Regions from separate parts of the Homo sapiens genome. Here region 2 is linked to region 1. The links are contacts of gene promoters, found by promoter capture Hi-C in blood cells and fetal thymus (Javierre and others, 2016). All regions are on one chromosome and are shown on one strand. Each heading gives the region's core, a stretch centred on a gene start or on the middle of the fragment in contact. The rest is flanking DNA. Distances are from core to core; before and after follow the strand shown.

Evidence for each region. The method cuts DNA at HindIII sites, captures the fragments that hold promoters and counts their contacts. A CHiCAGO score of 5 or more calls a contact.
Region 2: a contact is called between a fragment that was not itself captured here and the fragment with the promoter of SLC6A7 in region 1, in 1 of 17 cell types (megakaryocytes). The highest score is 6.1, in megakaryocytes.

Annotation. Positions count from the first base shown.
Region 1 is chr5:150,188,093-150,192,724 of GRCh38, reverse strand. SLC6A7 (solute carrier family 6 member 7) reads right to left here and starts at 2,663. Exons shown (of 14, transcript NM_014228.5): 1 at 2,365-2,663. The coding sequence starts at 2,397. The HindIII fragment of the contact is 12,060 bases long and covers 831-4,632 here.
Region 2 is chr5:150,021,133-150,025,764 of GRCh38, reverse strand. It overlaps HMGXB3 (HMG-box containing 3), which reads right to left. Exons shown (of 20, transcript NM_014983.3): 7 at 1,085-1,503. It also overlaps the pseudogene RPS20P4. Among named protein-coding and RNA genes, the nearest start is that of HMGXB3, 23 kb to the right of the region's middle. The HindIII fragment of the contact is 580 bases long and covers 1,762-2,341 here.

The DNA of each region.
Region 1 (4,632 bases), core at 1,414-3,913:
GACTAGAGTTCCAAGAGCAGGATGCTGCCAGCTCGTCCCCCTCCTCCCCCAATCAGAGGGAAGCCTGCTTCTGCTCCAGGGGCAGGAGATAGGGTCCTCCAAAGCTGAGCCAATCAGGAGCCCAACTGGAGTTCCCAACCCCACCATGGGGTGAATCCCAGGAGGCTGGCACAGTGAGGATGGGGCTGGTTGGGAGATGGAAGAAAGCAATCAAATAGCTGGGGCAGGGCTGGAAGCTGAATGAGTTGCTTCATACTTCTTCCTGGGTGTAAGCCTCCCACTCCTGAATCTCCCACTCCCTACCCCAGGGGCATGCAGGAACACACAGCTGAGTTTGTCAGACCTGCATGCTCGCCTTTAGGGACTCACAGCAGGGGCTGGGAGACTCAAGACTGCCCAAGCCAAGACTCTTCAGGACAGAGAGAGACAATAGGAATCTGGGGTCCAGCTTCATCATTGTGCAGATTAGGAAACCAAGTTTCAGGAAGAAGGGATGAGCCCAAGGTCAAACAGCAAGTTAAAGGCACAGCAAGACTTGGACCTAGATCCCCTGACTCTAAGTCCAGTGTTCATCTCTGAGCAATGCTGCTCCTTTGCGGAAATCTGGCATTTTCTCATTCCCGCCCAATTCTGCTTGAGAAAAGGGAAAGGACCCTGAGAGGAGGTAGCAACCTAGAACCAACCCTCTGCCCTGTTGGCTCTAGGTTGCCTAGCCTGCCAGCAGGTAAGCAGTGAGTCTCACCCCTCTGTGCCTCAGTTGCCTTATTTATAAAGTGGGGCTACTAAGACCTAGCCCCTGGAAGTGTTAAAGGATTAAATGAGATAAAGCTTGCTAACCCCCCAGCCCAGCACCCAGCAAGAGGGACAGGGCCTCTTGTGGGGAGGGAGGGCAGAGAGGGAAGAGAAGGAGAGTGGAAAAGAATGGAAACAGGACCCAAGAGACTCACAAATGGTCTCAAGAAGTCACTCATGTCAGTGAATAAAAAAGACATACCAGCTGGGCGCAGTGACTCACACCTGTAATCCCAGCACTTTGGGAGGCCGAGGCGGGCGGATCACGAGGTCAGAAGATCAAGACCATCCTGGCTAACACGGTGAAACCCCGTCTCTACTAAAAATACAAAACATTAGCCAGGCGTGGTGGCGGGCGCCTATAGTCCCAGCTACTCGGGAGGCTGAGGCAGGAGAATGGCGTGAACCCGGGAGGCAGAGCTTGCAGTGAGCCGAGATCACACCACTGCACTCCAACCTGGGTGACAGAGCGAGACTCCGTCTCAAAAAAAAAAAACAAGAAAAAGAAAAAAGACACACCACAGTGGTTCCAAGCCCAGCTGCCCCAGAGCAGAGAACTTGAATGAATGAGTGTGTGTGTGAGTGAGTGTGAGTGTGAATGTGTGTGTATGTAGGGAGGTTGATAACACCAGCCCCTGAGAACAGTCTTCTCACATCTACCAGCCCTTTAGCATTCTTCCCCACACCTCACACACCCAGTGGGGCCTGTTTTGGTGCCTCCAGGCTAGGGCTTAGCCAGAGGAGGTTCAGGTTAGAGAATGAACTTGTCCAAAGTCACCAGGCAAGTGGCAGCGGCAGAAATAGTATTCAGGAGATCTGACTCCTTAGTTAGGACTGGTACAAGCCAGAAAACGTCCCCCAGTATTCCCCCTCCCCATATCCTGACAGCTTGGCTGAGAGGTCCAATCCCACAAGGCAAGGTAGGGAGAGCCTGAGGTCTGGGCCCACAGCCACTCTCCCATACCAGCTTCCATCTTCATTGATCATATCCTCCTGCCTCCGATAGCCCCCTCCCTGTCTTTGCCTCCCTTCAGCCCTGCTGAGGGGCAGCCTGGGGTCTCAGCAGGCAAGCTAAGGGGGCGGGGAGGGAGCAGGCAGGAAAGAGGAGAGTCTTCCCGCAGGCTCAGGGAGCCGGCTTCAGTATGGATGACCGCCTCCCACTCCCCACCCCTCAGATGAGTCCAGCTCAACGCTCAGGTATTCCAATACCCCCCACACCCGGCAATCAGCTCCTGGCGGGGAGCAGCAGGGTGGAATTGGGGAAGAGGTGGGTGCCTGGCCCCGGCCGCCCCTACCCCGCGCCTCCGGGGACTGCAGACACCTGTTCATAGGCCTGGCCCAGTGAACCAGGACTCCCCTCATACTACATCCCGAACCCCAGATGGCAGGGGCAGAGGTGGGGGCGCAGACCGTGACCCTGACCCTCCCTGTTATCCAGCTGAGTCGGGCCTTCCCCAGAGCCCGAAGCTGGTCTGGGTGCATCCTCAGACCTTCCCCAGGGGCCTCGTTGGGGGCGGGTCTCTCCAACCCTCCTCCAGGTGCACCCCCAGCGCCCCCGCCCTCGTGCCCTACCTTGCGGAGGTGAGCTCCCTGGAGCTTCTTCATCTTGGAGAGCGGGTGGCCGGGGCTCAGCTGCCCCGGAGCGCAGAGAGCGAGGGCACGAGAGATGGTCCGCTGGCCACTGCGCCTTTGCCCCCGCGGCTCCCGCGCACCGGCTGGGGCGGGCACGGACGCAGGCGCTGCCGTCTGGCGGCTGCGGGCGTGGAGCGCGGGCAGGGCGCTGCGAATGCCTTGTCTGTCCCTGCGCAGCGCCCGAGGCTGGGGAAGGGTGCACTGCTGCGCCCGCATAGACACCCAGACAGACAGCTGACGGACGGACGGCGGGGGGATGCGCGCGCCCCCGCACGCAGAGCTGCGGATTGGAGAGCCCTGAGCGAGTGGGGAGGGGGGTTCGCGACGGAAACCCTCGGCTTTCTGCGTGACCTTGGGCAAGCGACCTGCCCTCTCTGGGACTCCCTTTCCACAGTTGGGCAAGGAACACTAACAGCCCACCCCCCTGCGTCGTCTTTGCTGTGCGACCTTAGGGGATAAGAATCTCTCCTCTCTTACAGGAGTGTGAGCAATTCAGGAAGATGGAGCATAGAAAACATCTAGCACAAAGAGCCTGACACATAGTAGGTGCTCAGTTAACATTTATTCACTGACTGTGGGTTGCCCACGCCACCATTAGTCCAATTATTCAATCTATCAGTATTTATTGAGCACCTAAAATGTGCCAGGTCCTGAACTAGGTGTCCTATTTTCTCAACCTGGAGAGACAGGTGTCGTTACTCCTATTCTACAGATGAGGAAGCTGAGGGACAGGGAAGTTAAGTTACTTACTCAAAGTCACGGGGCTAATGAGTGACACCAGGGACAGAGTCAGGCTTCATGGACCTTTAGGCTAGTAGAGTCTTCAACTCTCCTCCTTTCCTTAAGATGAAAGCAAAATGGGGAGGTTTGGGTGAGCAGAAGGGACAGGCAAGTGCCACAGTGTCACTGTGATCTGTGACTTAGATGATTAGTAACTGGTTTCCTGTCCAGCAGCAGTATGGCTTCTGGAAAGTTCTAATTTCATATCTGTAAAATGGGCCACGAGCCGCCCATGCATTGTTGCCTCAGAATGTTCTGAGGGTCCAGTGAGCCTGTGGCTAGGATGGGAAATGATGAGCTGGAGCAATGGCACACGTTGGTTTGCTGGGACTGACTGATAGACACTAGCGGATCAGTATATACATTACAAATTGTGTCCTTTTCACCCTCGCAAGTGTCCCAGTTTAGACATTAACCATACATCTGTTTGGCTCACTATCAGTTGACACGGTGGGAGGCCTTTGGGGAGAGATGAGAATAAGGTTCTGCTCTCTCCCACCTCTGGAGCTTGAAAAAAGGTTGGAGGGGTTTAAGTCAAAGCATGGACTTGGGTAAAGGCCTGGCCAGGCTCCAGTCCACCCCTTCCCCTGCCCAGGTCCTGTCAAACTTCTCTCCCCTTTGAGCCTGGCCACAAAGGGCAAACCAGGGGCTCTCCAGACCCAGGAGGAAGGTGTCTCCTCTGCCCCCTGCCTGCTGACCCATATGGGGCCAAGAGTGGCTGTGAGTGTGAAGAGAAGGAGCATTTATGGAGCCCTACTGTGTGCATTATGAAGGATTTTTGCATCCAACATCTAATTTTTAATTCTTTCCAACTGTCTGGGAAGACATGTTTGTGCATCTCATTTTACACCTGTGGAAACTGTCCCAGAGGAGTGAAGTCATGCACTGGGCGTTGGGGATGAAGCCAGGAAAGCTGTGGGTCATGGCTGGGAAAGGCAGAAGCCAAGGGCTCCTGAATCCAAGGAGGCCCAGGCAGGAAACTTCCCCATCCCTCACCCAAGGCTTGTCAATGCATCTTGTACAAAAGAGGCTCAACCTTGCTCAACCACTCCCTCCCATTGGCACTTGGGTTTCATGAGACCCTTTGGAAGGCACAGAGGGCCACAGGGACAGCGAGCAGGGATGAGGCAGTTGGCTCAGGAGCCAAGAAGACTGGCCTCTTTATGACCCTTCCTAGCAGCACCTGCTCCTCCCACTTCACGGACCCAGCCCTGGGGGAGAAGAAGGGAGTGGACCAGGGCTTTAGCTTCCCTTGAGCAGACACATCAGGGGGTGACCACTGAGCCACTGTGGCAGTCACTGGGACTGTGAGGTGCAAATGGATCTAGGCCCATGCCTTTCAGATAGGGAAACTGAGACCCAGAGGGGCAGGATTTGCAAAATCACTCAGTGATTCAGTAAAGACAGGATCATGTCTATAACCTAGGA
Region 2 (4,632 bases), core at 802-3,301, 170 kb after region 1:
CCCATCTCTACAAAAAAAAAAATACAAAAATTAGCCAGGTGTGGTAGTGCGTGCCTGTAGTCCCAGCTACTCCAGAGGCTGAGGTGGGAAGATCGATTGAGCCTGGGAGGATGAGGCTTCAGGGAGCTGTGTTCGCACCACTGCACTCCAGACTGAATGACAAAGAGAGATCCTGTCTCAAACAATAAAAATAAACATAAAAATAAAAAACAAGATGTAGAAGTATGTATGTTGTGCTATGATTTGTGTTAAAAAAAAAATGGGAAAAATATATATACACACACACACATACATATTTGCATACAAGGTATACAAGGTATTCTTATTTTTCCAGGAAAAGCCAGCCAAAGTTAAAAGTGGAATTGGCTTCTGGTGTTCATTGCGGGCACAATTGTTACCAGTTGAGAACCATTGATACAAATAAGGGTCTTCAGTTACAAGAACACAACTTCCTCAGGGAAGGGATATACACAGAATCCAATTAAGCATTTAAGGAGGAAAAGGGGAGAAAAAGATAGTGACTTCCTCCGACTTGCAAGGTACTTGGTTGCATGTTTTATATACAATCTTCAGTTTGTACAGTCAGCCTGTGAGGATAAGATTTTCTAATATCCAACTCAAGATTCTTCAGAGGAGAGAACTGAGGTGAAGAGACATGAAGTGACAATGCCCAAAGTCAAACAGAAGCCAGAAACAGTCAGAACCAGTACTGAGTTCTCTGACTATAAGGCCAGAACTCTTTCTACAGGATGCTTTAATAAAGATTCTCTTTCCAAATCCAGTATCCAGGACTGGTAACTCATAGTTTTAATACTGCCCAGAGCCTATACCAGCAAGACTCTAATTAATGCTTTAGGGAGACTGACAAGAAGAGATGTGTAAGTAATCTGACAGCAGTACATGAATAGCAGAGTCCGGGGGAAGGGACAATCTTTATATATCTCTAGGCCTTGGTTTCTGTATCTCTAAAACAGGAACCATTGCCTGGTCTCTGCTGCCTCTCTCAGGCATGCTGTACAGACATGAGATAAAAGAAACATGGGGCATTTCCAAAGCCCTATATTATACAAACACACTGACTTACCCTGTAGGTTTTTTAGGAGCAGGGAGTGGACTGGAGGTACTTGTCCCCTCGGATGGTGTTGGTACGTCTGCTCCAGGACTGTCATTGTCAGTTGTCCCCAGAGTGACCTCAGGCTGCACACCACTTTTGACGACTGGCGTCTTAGTGACTGCTGTACCACAATTCCCGGGAGCTTCCTTAACCAAAACATGGGCATCGGAGATGATCACTTCCTCCCACTCACTCTCCTCACCTACTTCTCTGGGAGGAGCTACGTTCAGGAGCTGGCTTACAGCTTCCGAATTCTCCAGAGTCAGTTTGGAGGCATTTTCCTTAGAGGAATTTTGCTCAGTGGTGACAGGTTGCTGATTTCTTTTCACCACAGAGCCTTTGGAAGAGACGCCAGAAGCCAATTCCACTTTTACTTTGGCTGGCTTTTCCTAGAAAAATAAGAATACCTTGTATACATAAGGGATTTTACAGTTGATGACATTCACAAACATTCTCTCATTTTTAATAACATATGGGCAATAAATAAGGAAACTAAGGTCCATGAAAGGAAGAAGTTAACTTAAGATCTCAAGTGTAAAACTAGCCTGAATCTAAGTTTTCTGGCTACAGGTTCCTTTCACTATAGCATTAAATGCCTTCGTTTGAATAAAACTGTTCATCTTCTAATGAATTCTTATTGAAAAGCTTCTCCAGGTTTCATCAACCAAATGTTGGCATTTTTTAGGTTTACATTTAGTTTTACATTATTCAAAGGCTACTTCTGTGTGTCTAGAAAGAGGGTGACATACTGCCATACAGGGCCTAAAAGCCCTAAGTTGTTCACCTTGGTGGTCCTTTTATGAGATTCAGTTAATCCCAATGTGGCCGCAACCTCATGTGGACAGATTCAAATTTTCCCATCTCCTTTGGGAAAAATTCTGTTTTTTGTCCCAGATTCTTTAAGGAGAGTCTTAAGAATGACTTGCACATATGTCACATACTTTGCACTGGATCAAATTAACTCATGCATTATTATGTGCTACAAATATTCAAACTCACTAAAAATGGCAGCTGCTATTTCAGCTAGACCTGGCTTTAAAAAGTCCTTGGTGTCTTAGCTTTTATCCAATTAGCACTGCAGTGGAAATAATAGTATTATATATACACACATACGCTTTTAAAAATGTTTTTAAATAGTGGTTGTCTTCAGAAAGGTTTTCTACCCACCATGTATATCATAAAGGGCACTGTAAACTAGGAAACATAAAGGCTGGGTTCTATCAAGCTTAGCTCCACTCCTAATTAGTTATGTGGTATAAGGCAAGCTTCAATTGAATCCTCATTTCCCCTTATGAAATAGCAAAGGGTTGGGCTCTCAGTATTTGTCAACAGGAGCCAGACAGCATTTTGGGTGACCTAATTCTATAGTGTGTAGGACCTCCCTGCACATTACAGAAAGTTTAGTGTCTGTGCCAATGTCACTAAATTTCAATGATTTATCTCCCAGTCGCTTACTACCCAAAAACCCCTCAACATTTCCAAAGCCATCTGCATACTGCACTTCTAGTTCAGAACTGGTAACAGCCAGGCGTCATGGCTCATGCCCGTGATCCTAAGTCTTTGGGAAACTGAGGCAAGAGGCTCACCTAAGCCCAGGAGTTCAAGACCAGTTTGGGAAACATGGCAAGACCACATCTCTACAAAAAAAAAAAAAAAAAAAAAAATTAGCCAGGCATGGTGGTATGCAGCCTGTGTGCCTGTGTTCCCAGCTACTCGAGAGGCTGAGGTGGCAGGATCACTTGACCCCAGGAGGCTGAGGCTGCATGAGCTGTATTCATGCCTGGGTGACAGAGCGAGACCCTGTCCCTGTCTGGAAAAAAAAAAAAAAAAAAAGAGCCAGTAACAGGTGACCTCTTAAGAGCTCTTTGGTAAAGCATTCTCAGATTCTAACACATAATAGCCCCTAAGAGTGAGTTAACATGGAGAAAAATTCCAAGTCAAGTGCACAGAGCTTATTTACTGCAGGAGAGGGAAAATTTAGCAGAAAAACAGGAGACTAAACTCATTTTTTGAGATAAGATTTTTGAGCAAACACTGCCTACTAAGTAGGCTATTTTAGACAAAAATCACCACAGAAAGATTGGGTAATTTAAGCAATCTGAGCAAAACAACTCTACCTGGTGATCTCACATTTCATTAACTCAGCCTACTCATTTTAGATGTTACTTTCAAAATTCTCTGAGGCTGCAGGCTCAGAGAGACCTCAACTGCTGCCATCAGAGAGCCTTAAGAATGAAGCCTTGAGCTAAACAGCCTTATATACTATCTTTTGTTTTATCCAACTCATTGGGAACTATGCCACATATTTCTTGGGCTAATTTTAGCCAGTATGAACTCTAGAACAATACAACAAAAGGTGAGTCATTTCCTGGCTGGCACAAACACACTTGGAGCTTTTAGAGACAAATTATACTTGCTGCCTCAAAAATCAGAATTCAAGAAATCTTATTAATAGATCGGGGTGTCCAATTTTGGCTTCCCTGGGCCACATTGGAAGAACTGTCTTGAGTCACACATAAAATACACTAACACTAACAATAGCTGATGAGCCTAAAAAAATAAAAATAAAATAATCACACACAAAAAAATATAATGTTTTGCTCTTTGAGGAAGACACAGTCATAGGTGGTGCGGAGCTGCGGTCCGCCCGCTCCTGCCCGCTCCTGCTCCTGACTCACCGCTGTTCTCTCTCGCCAAGGAACAAGTCGGTCAGGAAGCCCGCTGCAGCCAAGGCTTTTAAAGACACCGGAAAAACACCCATGGAGCTGGAGGTGGCAATTCACCGAATTCAAATCACTCTAACGAGCTGCAACATAAAATCCCTGGAGAAGATGTGTGCTGACTTGATCAGAGGAGCAAAGGAAAAGAATCTCAGTGAAAGGATCAGTTCGAATGCCTACCAAGACTTTGAGAATCACTACAAGAAAAACTTGTGGTCAAGGTTCTAAGACATAGGAATGTTTCCATAGGAGAATCCACAAGCAACTAATTGACTTGCACAGTCCTTCTGAGATTGTTAAGCAAATTACTTCCATCAGTACTGAGCCAGGAGTTGAGGTGCAAGTCACCACTGCAGATGCTTAAGTCAACTATTTTAATACATTGATTACCAGTTGTTAAAAAACAAAAAATCTCAATGTTTTAAGATAGTTTATGAATTTGTGTTGGGCTTCATTCAAAGCCATCCTGGGCCATAGGTTGGACAAGCTTGTCTTACATTCTGCAGCTAAACAGCACAGCAATGCCTGAGAAGTGTGGTTTAGTGGAAAAGGCAATGGGATAATTGGCTGTGTGAATTTAGTAAGTCGCTTTTTCAAAATCTATTTTTCCTTAGCTGGAAACTCAAAAGAGTTGAAGTAGCTGATAATCAAAGTCAATTTATTTCTAAAATTCTAAGTGCACTGATGGTAAAATGTTACCTGTCTTCTCACACTCATTCTGTTTCTATAAGCTTTAGAAATCACAGTATCTACTCTTGACATGGTAATCCTTGCAGAACACATTGGTAAATTCTGACT